Linked DNA regions of Homo sapiens: region 2 is linked to region 1. The links are contacts of gene promoters, found by promoter capture Hi-C in blood cells and fetal thymus (Javierre and others, 2016). All regions are on one chromosome and are shown on one strand. The core of a region is centred on a gene start or on the middle of the fragment in contact, and the rest is flanking DNA. Distances in the headings are between cores, read along the strand shown. Region 1 holds the start of PATE2 (prostate and testis expressed 2). Region 2 holds the start of PATE4 (prostate and testis expressed 4).

Region 1 (5,825 bases), core at 29-2,528:
GGTTTCATTGATTTTCTTTGTAAATCTGCCTAAGTAGCATAGCATTTCACTTTGAAATGTGAAACACTTGCTACCTACTATCTTGGGACCCTTGCTGGAATGTAGAAAGTCTCATTTCTTGTCTTTATTATAGTTCAAAAAACCAGTCTGATAAAGCTGGATGCTCTGTGGAGAATGGACTGGAGGGATGCAAGGCAGGATATGGGAAGAACATTATTAATTCCTCCCACAAATATTTGTTGGGCATTTCCTTTGTTCCCAGCCTCTAGATGCCAAGTGTGCCATGATAAACCAAAGAAACCCCTTGCTTTGTTCTAGTGGAGGAGTAAAAAAGTGAGCCAATAGCAATGTAAGATCAGCTTATTAGAATTGCAATGAAACATACCACAGGGAAAAAGGTAGGAAATGAAGGCTGTCATTTTCTAGAGATTAAGCAGAAAATGCTGCTCTGTCTGAGGGAGTGACATTTGAGCAAAGACCTGAGTGAGCCAGGGAAATGTGGAGAGAAAGGAGATTGGAGGGGAGGCCATTGCTCATAATGACAAAGCCATTGCCGGCTATGATAAAAACTCTGGATTTTCTTTCAAAGGTAATAAAAAGTCGTCAGAGTGTTTTCAGCAGGGGTGTGGCATCTATGACTTGTTCTCTGACTGCTTTATGAAGAAATGATTATGAAGGGGCAGAGGAGAAGCATGGAGGCCAGAAATAAGGCCATTGCTTGGTCCAGGCAAGACATAATAGACTGGATTATGGTAATGGCAGTGGCGACAGAGAATAATAAACCCATGTGAGAAGTTAGTAGGTAGAATGGATAAGACTTGCTGTTAGATTGCTCAATGAGGATGAAACACAAGAAGATGTAAAGAACACCTCCCAGATGTATTAAAACCTGCAACATTGTGAGGAGAGACTGGGCAGGACTGAATAACTGTTGGGTGCTATGTTCACTACCTGGGTGACGGGATCATTCGTACCCCAAACCTCAGCATCAAGCCATATACCCCTGTAACAACCCTGCACATGTACCCCCTGAATCTAAAATGAAAGTTGAAAATACTTTTTAAAACTCTGCAATATTGAAGTAGGAGCAGGTCTGGTGAATCAGGAACATTACCATTTCATTTTCATTAGAGGATTTGCACAAAATCAAAGTGAGTACCCTCTTTAGAATGCTGTGCAGCAATCAGATATGGTGGTTTGGCTTGGAACATTGCCATACTGCCTGTCCCTGAAATTTTATGATTATATAATTTAGATGACTAGCCCAAGGACAGATCACAAGAGAACAACTTGCTCCTTCCACAGGAAGCTGCACCTGACAGAAGCTCCAGGATGCTTGTTCTCTTTCTCCTGGGCACAGTCTTTCTGCTCTGCCCATATTGGGGTAAGTCCTGGAGACAGAGGGGAAGCTGGTGGTTGGTTAAGAGACGGACAGATGCTGGGGGAAGAGAAAGTTTTCAAAATTGGCTCTTGGGGCAGTGGCAGATGTATGTGAGACTGTAACATGGAAGGTTTTTCTTCTTTTCACAGGTGAACTTCATGACCCTATAAAAGGTACAATCATGGCTTCTCTGAAGTCCTTGGTAAACAGGCAATTTGTGACATGTTTAGGAGCAAACCTTTCCTTCATCTTCAGAGAGGCCTGTAATCCATTCTTATTATAGAATCCTAGGGGTTTCGCCTCCTGCCAGACCTGTTTTGTCCATTTCTTAGAGTAAGGAGGCTAAGATCCACTTTACTTTCTTTTACCCATTACTCGGCAAAATCATCAGGCTAGATAAGGGGTTCATTACTGGAGGTCCATGGATAAATTTCATGGGAACCCTGACCTCCTGAAATCATATACAGTGTTTGATTTATGTTTGTACAGGTTATCTTTCACAAGATTTTTTTAATTGGAGAAAATGTGTACAAATTTATTAATGTGTACATGGGGAGGACCGCAGCATGATTATCCCTATCTTTCTCAAGATTACCAAGAGTCCATGGTCCAAAAAATGTTAGGAACCACTAGGCAAGAATAAGGTCCTGTAGTGAAGCCCCCAGCCCCAGAGAATATTCTCAAGACTGCATCCTCTAAGCACCTCTTTTTGTATCTGGCAGCGACTGAAATAATGTGTTATGAATGTAAAAAATATCATCTTGGGTTATGCTATGGTGTCATGACATCCTGCTCCCTGAAGCATAAACAGTCCTGTGCAGTTGAGAACTTTTACATCCTTACAAGGAAAGGTAATGTGGAGTATAGAGTGACTGGAAAATCACCACCACCATCCCTGAGAAACAGTAGTGTTCTTTTGCCCTCAGCGTGAGTAGGTGAATGGGATGGGTGAGTATGGGGTGGTCTTGAGGGGATGGCAAAGACAGACTTTTCCCTAAGACCATATTGAGTGAAAAAGAGGCTGATGTCCCTTACCTGGCAGGGAATAAAATCTACTCTCTGGGTCAGCAATTAACAGACTCAGCTTTGGAACTCATTTGGGCCTAGAGAAAGGTTAGTGAGGACACAAAAACAGATTACTCCTAGGAACGCAGTAAAAGGAAATGAGGTCATTATGATCATATTTCCTCTCTTTTACCTCCTCAGGGCAGAGCATGTATCATTATTCAAAACTGTCGTGTATGACCAGCTGTGAGGACATCAACTTCCTGGGGTTCACGAAGAGGGTAGAGCTCATCTGTTGTGATCATAGTAACTACTGCAACCTCCCTGAGGGAGTTTAGTTCTACGTCTCTCCTGGATTTTGGGTTCTTTTTCAACCACTACGCTCTTTTTCTCTTCCCTGAACCTGAATTTTGCTCTCCTCTTCTATGCATTGGTAGAGAGTGAGAAAGCCAGCTCATAGTGAAAAGACAAGCAGGCATAAGGAGACGCAGTGTGGACAGCGGAGCCTATTGATGATGGAGCACTAGACTCACTCTTTGCACATCCCTGTCGCTAACAGGTGGGAGGGGTTTTGCTCTCCTTACGTGATACTGCCATGAATAAGCTCAGACTTGGTCATTTATTATCTCCTGTATGAAAATGTGAACACTTGGGCCATAATAATCTCCAATTTGTACTGAGAATTCTGTGACTATCCTCTATCCTCATCTACACACACACTCCTCTCCGTTGGAATTCTCTTTGGATTAGCCCTGACACTTTCTGGCACTGTCCTTTTCTGCCCGTGGGTTCTGGAGAGGGCTAACCCCAGCTTCCCAGTGTGTTGGCAGCATGGGCCAAGTCTTTCTCTGATAGAGCTCTTGGGGGAACCTCAGGGCAGAAAAAAAAAAACTGAACAGACATAGGGATGAGCATCAAAGAAAACTTCAGGGGGCATTTCAACTGGTAAAAACTAAGATCTGAGAAATAACTTGCTGTGGGTGGAATTGGCTTGAATTATCATTGCCCTGGCTGGCCAGGCAGCCTTGGGCACATGGTTGAACTAGGTGATTGGATTGGGAACAGAGTGTTTTTTTAAGGATGGCTAGTCAGGTTCTTCTCATGGGACTGAGCAAACAAAATGCTGATAATGTGGCAGGTGGTGTAGTAGTTGAAGATAATAGGATGTAAATAGATACCATGAGGTAGTGTTCAAGTAACAGAGTGCCCTGTGTAAGAGGAAGTTATGAGTTTGCAGAAAGTGTGAGAAAGGTAGCATATATGGGTAACAGTGGTGGGAAGAGAAGAAGGAAGACACAGAAACAGATAGGAAGAGAAACTGAGTAGCATTGATGTTGGAGCACACCTGTGGCCAAGGTGGCACATTTTCCTTGGATACACACTAACCCTGGTGTTTCTGTCCTTATAAGGCTGACTGCACCCTAGATGACGGGTTGATGGGTGCAGCAAACCACCATGGCACATGTATACCTATGTAACAAACCTGCATGCTGCACTTTCTTTCATGTATCCCAGAACTTAAAGTAAAATAAAAAAATAAATAAATAAATAAAGGCCAGAAAAATTGGCCAAAAAATCTGAATAGAAAAAGATATACAGATAGTAAATGAGCATATGAAAATATGCTTAACATCATATCTCACTAGGGAATTGCAAATTAAAACAACAATATTACGCAACTATACATTTTAAATGGTCAAAATCAAAAAAATAAAAAACCCTCACAGTAGCAATTTTTGTCAAAGATATAGAGCAATAGGAAATCTCATTTATTGCTGGCAGGAATGCAAAATGGTAATGCTGTTTTGGAAGACAGTTGGTAGTTTCTTAGAGAGGTGATTATACTCTTGCTATGTCATTCAGTAATCATGCCTTTAGATATTTACTCAACCAATTTGAACAGTTATGCCCACACAGAAACCTGCACACAAATGTTAAAATCATATTTATTCATAATTGCCTGAGACTAGAAGCAATAAAGATGCCCATCAATAAGTGAATGGATATGTAATCTATGGTACATCCAAACAGTGGGATGCTACTCAATGATGAAAAGAAATGATCTATCAAGCTATGAAAGGACATGGATACATTTTTAAATGAATATTGCTAAGTTAATGAAGCCAGTCTGAAAAGGCTACATACAGATGCTCCTCAACTTATGATGGGGTTATATCCTGTTATAACAATTGCAAGTTGAAAATACTGTGAACTGAAAATGCATTTAAAACACTTAACCTTCCAAACATCATAGCTTAGCCTAGCCTACCTTAAATGTGCTCAGGATGTTTACATTAGCCTATAGTTGGGCAAAAGCATCTAACACAAAGCCAATTTTATAATTGGCTTTGAGTATCTCATGTAATTGAGTATTTCATGTAATTTATTGACTACTCTACTGAAAGTAAAAAACAGAATGCTTGTATGGGTACTAAAGTATGGCTTCTACTGAATGCTTATTGCTTTCACACATCTTAAAGTTTAAAAAACTTGTAAGTCAAATCATTGTAAGTCTGGGAACATGTGTACTCTGATTCCAATTTTGTAAAAGACCAAAGTATAGGGTTGGTGAAAATATCAATGACTGCCAGTGGATTAAGAGGAAAAAAGGGATTGAATAGGTAAAGTATAAAAGATTTTTTAGGGTGATGAATCTATTCTGTATGATACTATACCAGTAAATACATGACACTATGCACTTGTCAAACCCCATAGAACTTTACTGCACAAAGAATGAAACAATGTATGAGAATTAAAAGAAAAATCATTTAGGAAGTCAGAGGATTCCAGGAAGGAATGCACAATGTGACAAAAATGATGTAACTGTTACAAATGTGTGAAACAATCTCTCTGAGTTGAGTTGGGGGAAAAGTTTCTGATCTGAGTAACTTTGTAAATGAGTGGAGCCTGTAAGCTTAAAGGCAAAAGAAAATGTACACAAGCTCTGCACTCTACTTGATAAAATTGTTTTCCCCAAGGTTATAGGTTAATAATTCTGATACTGCTCTACAGGTACACTGTAATTGAACTCCTAAGCAAATGAATGGGGGCTGGGGGAATCCAGGTTTCTCACTGTTGGAGTTAGAAGTTACAGATAAGCAAGAGAAAGGTGCTAGAATGATCAATGAGGTAATGAATTAGACATCAGTATGAATTCATATTTAGTTAAATATAAATACAGATTATTTATAAATATGTATATAAAAGAAATATTTATAAATATGTATATTTATGAGTTATTATACATACATATATTTCCTTGCTCTGTCAAATAACAATAACAATAGTAATGAGTACCCCTAGCACCCAGACTGTGGTTTCTAATACCATTCTCAAAAAAAAAAAAGAAATCAGAAGTCCTTGGAGAAATGGCTGATTGTAGGACTGGGGCAGGAAATTAAATGAAGAGAAGATGAGCCTGTAAATCTGAGGGAGTATA
Region 2 (5,957 bases), core at 445-2,944, 54 kb before region 1:
GTTTTCATCTGCCAAATAAAGGAAACCAGTTTTATTCATTTCTTTTATATCTTTTAGATTGATTTTCAGTATATTCAAGCAAATATAAATATGCACATGTATCTTTTTACCCCCTTTTCATAATTGGTAGTATACTATGCATACTCTGCACTTTGATTTTTTGAATAATGTATACTAAGTGTATAGTATTCCACTGTAGTGCTGTACCATGCTTTAATTAACCAGTCTCTTATGAGAATTTAAGTTATTTGCACTTTTTGATATTATCTGCTGCAATAAATAATGCTGAACATATTTCATTTGTGTGGGAGTATATCTATAAGATAATTTCATGCAAGCAGAATTGCTGGATAAAAAGTAAACACTTTTGTAATTTTGATAGGTATTGCTGAATTGCCCACCAGAGGAGATGTAACTATTCTGTTGCTATCAATGCTTGGAAAATTCTTGTCTCACCACAACTTTAATACTCAAATATTTTATCAAACTCCTGGATGTTGACAATCTGATAGGTCAAAAATGGTGTATCAGTGTTCTTTTAATTTGCATTTTTCTTAGTATGAGTGAGATTGAGCACTTTTTATATGTTTAATAGCCATTTTCATTTTCTTTTGTGTGAACTATCTACATACTTTGCCCATTTTTCTATTAGGTTGTTGGCCTTTTCCTTTTTGATTTTTTTAAAGGAGGCATTACATATCAGGGATATTAGCCATTTGTTTGATGTGAGTTGCATTTTTAATTTTTGCCATGAGGAATATTTTGATATTCATGTGTCAAATTTGTCAGTTTTTCTTTTAAGAGCTCTGGATTTTGAGTCATAGTTAGAAAGGTCTTTCTCATTTCTAAGCTTACAAACAAATTATGTCACATTTTCTTATAATTCTTTTATGGTTTATTATTTCTTACTAAGTGTCAAAAGGTAGCAAAATAGAAATATAAGGTAGAAATATAATCATATTTGAAGCACATTTAATAGGTAGAAAGCATAGGAATCATTCACTAATTTTTAGTGAGTGTTAAGGGAGAGGGAGATTTCAAGGGTGACTTCCAAGTGTAGGAGGTGTTTGTTGATGAAAGACTGAAGCTCAGAATAGAAATCTGGCTAGGATATAAAACTGGGCATTTTCAGCATATAGATTGTAATTGAAGCCATGGAAGTGGGTAAGTTGATATAGAGGAGGGTCTGAGTGGATAGTATAAAGCCTTAAGGTATCCCAGTGTTTAATGATCAGGTAGAATAAAGAATCCTACAAAATACACTGAGAAGTAGCCAGAGGAAAGGAAAACTAGGAGAGTGTAGGAGATAATAAAGGAGAAAAGTATATTAAGAAAGAAAGGGTCCAAAATGAGATAAGTATGGATGAAAAGTCAATTAATATGAAGTTGGAAAATTGTCCTGTTTCCCTGCAATCAGTAGTACATTTTCTTCCGGATTAGTGTGTTATATATGATCTCTCTGACATCCTGAAACTCAGATTGTACTGAGTCTTTGGGTCTCAGCTGGAGCATGTGAGTGAGACTTGGAGAGTAGAGGTTTAGAGAACAGCACCCCTAAGTTGCCTCCCTCCACCCCCATTGTTCAAACTTACCCTCTTTGAGGTAGAGAAAAGATAAGCTCACAAGGAGCAGTGTGTTCATTTTCCTCATTGGATGCTTGTTTGGGTGACAGACGGTGTGCTGAGTGAGGTATTGGAAAGGGCAGCCACTAGCTTGCTTTATAAAGCTTAGATGTTCGATCACAGCCAGTAAATAGAAAGGAGGGAGGAGTCCCTGATAAAGGCATGAGGCAGAACCGTCCTTTCCCCACTCCCTTCTCTTAAGGAGCCATAAATCTGTACTAATGTGGAAAGTGCAGGCTGGTGAGCAGTGTCAGGGAATGCTTCTGGCTAAAGTTGAATTAGATTTCCACCCCTGACTCTCCATCCTCCCTCTGCCTTCCCTGCCCCATATCTGTCTTCTCCTCACTTTTTTTTTTTAAGAGACAGGGTCTCACTCTGTTGCCCAGGCTGGAGTGCAGGGGCTCATTGCAGCCTCAAACTTTTTGGTTTACACGATCCTCCTGCTTCAACCTCCAGTGTAGCTGGGACTACAGTCGCTACTCACCCTTTTTTCTCTATGTGTCTGCGTGTGTGTGTGTGTGTGATTGTTACGGTTTGATTGTCCCCTCCAAATCTCATGTTGAAATGTAATCCATAAAGTTGGAGGTGGGGCATGGTGGGAGCTGTTTGAGTCATGGGGGCAGATCCCTCATGAATTGCTTGGTGCCATCCTCATTGTAATGAGTGAGTTCTTGCTCTGGTAGTTCAAGCGAGAGCTGGTTGTTTAAAAGAGTGTGGAACCTCCCCTTCCCTTCTCTCTGTTGTTCCCTTCTCTCTCTTGCTCTCATTCTTGCCATGTAATACACCAACTCCTTTTTTGCCTTCCACCATGATTGCAAGCTCCCTGAGGCCCTCACCAGGAGCAGATGCCAGCACCATGCCTCCTGTACAGCCTGCAGAACTGTGAGCTAATTAAATCTCTCTTCTTTACAAATTACCTAGTCTCTGGTATATCTTTATAGCGATGCAAAAATGCACTAACAGAAAATCGATACTGAGAAGTGGGGTGTTGCTATAAAGATACCTGAAAATGTTGAAGAAGCTTGGGAACTGGGTAATGGGCAGAGGTTGGAAGAATTTAGAGGGCTTAGAAGACAGGAAAATGGGGGAATGTTGGAATTTCTTAGAAACTTGTTACGTGGTTGTGACCAAAATACTGATAGAAATATGGATAGCAAAGGCCAGGCTGAGGAGTTCTCAGATAAAAATGAGGAAGCTCTTTGGAACTGGAGCAAAGGTCACCATTGCTATGCCTTAGCAAAGAGCTTGGCTGCATTGTGTCCACGGCCTGGGAATTTGTGGAAGACTGAACTTAAGAATGATGACCTAGGGTATCTGGCAGAAGACATTTCTAAGCAGTACAGTGTTCAGGATGTGATATGGCTGCTTCTAACAGCCCACAATTATGTATGGGAGGAAAGAAATAACTTAAAGTTGGAACTTACATTTAAAAGATAAGTAGAGGCTGGGCACAGTGGCTCAAGCCTGTAATCCCAGCACTTTGGGAGGCCAAGGAGGGCGGATCATGAGGTCAAGAGATTGAGACCATTCTGGCCAACATAGTGAAACCCCATCTCTACTAAAAATACAAAAATTAGCTGGGTGTGGTGCACACCTGTAGTCCCAGCTACTCGGGAGGCTGAGGCAGGATAATCACTTGAACCCAGGAGTTGGAGGTTGCAGTGAGCTGAGATCACACCACTGCACTCCAGCCTGGTGACAGAGTGAGACTCTGTCAAAAAACAAAACAAAACAAAACAAAAAAATGATAAGTAGAGCATAAAAATTTGGAAAATTCTTATGTGGCAGAGAAGGAATGAATGTTTTCAGGAGAGGAATTCCAGTGGCCTATGGAGGAACTACTTGCTAGATATATTTGCATGACTAAAAGGGAGCCAAGAGCTGTTATCCAATAATAGCTATTATTATGTAATAATATATTATTGGATAACAGCTCTCGGCTAATAATATCCAAGACAATGGGAAAAAGGCCATGAAGACATTTCAGAAATCTTCAAGGCAGCCCCTCTTATCACAAGCTCAGAGGCCTAGGAGGAAAGAATGTTTTCAGGGGCCAGGCCCAGGGCCCTTCTGCCCTGTGCAGCCTTGGGACACTGCTTTCACATCCTGGCCACTCCAGCTCCAGCTTCATCTCAAAGGGGCTCTGGTACAGCTTGGGCCATTGCTCTGAAAGGTTCAAGCTATAAGCTTTGGCAGCTTCCACATGGTGCTAAGCCTGCAGGTGTGCAGAATGCAAGAGTGAAGGAGGCTTGGCAGCTTCCACCTCAATTACAGAGGATGTATGGAAAAGTCTGGGTGCTCAGGAAGAAGCCTGCTTCAAGGGTACAGCCCCCACAGAGAGGATCTACGAGGACAGTGCCAAGGGAAAATGTGGTATTGGAGCCCCCACAAGAGTCTCGACTGGAGAGCAGCCTAGTGGAGCTGTGGAAAGGGGCCACCACCCTCCAGACCCCAGAATGGTAGAGCCACTGGCAGCTTGCACCTTGAGCCTGGAAAAGCCACAGCTACTCAACTCCAATCTGTGAGAATAGCCATAGAGGCTGCACCTTGCAAAACCACAGGGGCAGATCTTCCCAAGGCCTCAAACCCACCTCTCACATCAGTATGCCCAGGATATGGGACATGGAGCCAAAGGAAATTATTCTGGAACTTTTAAATTTAATGACTGCCTTGCTGGATTTCAGACTTGGATGGGCCTCTTGTCCTTTTCTTTTGGCTGGTTTTTCCCTTTTGGAATGGGAATGTTTACTCAATGCCTGTACCACCATTGTATCTTGGAAGTAAATAGCTTGTGTTTGATTTTATAAACTCATAGATTGAAGGAAATTGCTTTGAGAATCAGATGAAACTTTGGACTTTACATTTTTGAGTGATGCTGGAAAAATTAAGACTTTGGGAAACTGTTGGGAATAGATGATTGTATTTTGCAATGTGAGAAGGACATGAGATTTGAGGGGCCAGGGACAGAATGATATTGTTTGGATATTTGTCCCCTACAAATCTCATGTTGAAGTGTGATTCCCAATGTTAGAGGTTAGGTCTGGTAGGAGGCATTAGGTCATGGGAGAGGATCCCTCATGAATGGCTTGATGTTGACCTTGTGGAAATAAGTGAATTCTTACTCTATGAGTTCATGTGAGACCCGGTTGTTTAAGAGAGCCTGGAACCTCCCCTCCCTTTCTCCAGCTCCCTCTCTTGCCCTGTGATGTGCTGGCTCCCCCTTTGCCTTCTTCCATGATTGTAAGCTTTCTGAGGCTTCTCCAGAAGTGGATGCTGGCACTATGTTTCATTACAGCCTGCAGAACCATGAGCCAAAATAAAACCTCTTTTCTTTATAAATTAACTAGCCTCAAGTATTTCTTTATAGTAATGCAAAATGGCCTAATACAGCAATACTATCAGATTTCTGGTTCCCTGGAAATTTCTTATACATACTAAGTGAAAGAGTGTTTATTCGTCATTAGGACAATGACTTATAAAATGGGATGACATATGAATCTCAGAATTCAAAGGTTTCCAGAGAGTTTTATGTAATATGAGGTGTACTGATACAGCTTACTCCAATACTGAAAAAAATTTCCCCAGTTTAAGGCTTGGGCAAGGGTTGTTTTTTCTTTTTCTTTTTCTTTGAGATGGAGTTTTGCTCTTTCGCCCAGGCTGGAGTGAAGTGGTGCAATCTTGACTCACTGCAACCTCCACCCACCGGGTTCAGGAGATTTTCTTGCCTCAGCCTCCTGAGTGGCTGAGATTATAGGTGCCTGCCACCATGCCCAGCTAATTTTTGTATTTTTAATACAGACAGGGTTTTGCCACATTGGCCAGGCTTGTCTCAAACTCCTGACCCCAGGTGATCCACCCACCTCGGCCTCCCAAAGTGCTAATATTATAGGCATGAGCCACCACACCCAGCCAAGTGTTGTTTTTTCTCCTAAGCACCACACCACAGTTCTCCTAGGCTTCTAACTTCAGCACTGTCATCTTCACCCTTTGGAAACCTTGAATATTTCCTATGTCTGGGTGTTGGGAATATCTAGATAGGCTCTTGGAGGTTCCCAGCAAATCTCTTGGAGATTAGAAGTTTAGGGATGCAGGAAGAGATGCAAGAAGGGCTTCTCCAGAGACTTTTTGGGTGAGGTCCTTCTTGGGATCTCCACACATTTTCTGGATATTTTCTTAACATTAGCTCTTCTAGTATTAGAGCCAGAACTGTGTCTCAACTATTCTCAGATATGTCTCAAATAATGTCCTTGCTCTTTACTCTTTAGGGAAACAGTCCATTTGTAACCTCATCCCATATCCTTCAGTTTTATTTAGAAAAAAACTTCTAGAAGATTT

Evidence for each region. The method cuts DNA at HindIII sites, captures the fragments that hold promoters and counts their contacts. A CHiCAGO score of 5 or more calls a contact.
Region 2: a contact is called between the fragment with the promoter of PATE4 here and the fragment with the promoter of PATE2 in region 1, in 7 of 17 cell types (monocytes, neutrophils, activated CD4 T cells and 4 more). The highest score is 7.2, in monocytes.

Annotation. Positions count from the first base shown.
Region 1 is chr11:125,774,281-125,780,105 of GRCh38, reverse strand. It overlaps PATE2 (prostate and testis expressed 2), which reads left to right and starts at 1,278. Exons shown (of 4, transcript NM_212555.3): 1 at 1,278-1,384; 2 at 1,531-1,554; 3 at 2,104-2,232; 4 at 2,588-3,993. The coding sequence starts at 1,333. The coding sequence ends at 2,724. The HindIII fragment of the contact is 7,529 bases long and covers 1-5,302 here.
Region 2 is chr11:125,829,053-125,835,009 of GRCh38, reverse strand. PATE4 (prostate and testis expressed 4) reads right to left here and starts at 1,694. Exons shown (of 3, transcript NM_001144874.1): 1 at 1,593-1,694. The coding sequence starts at 1,650. The HindIII fragment of the contact is 876 bases long and covers 853-1,728 here.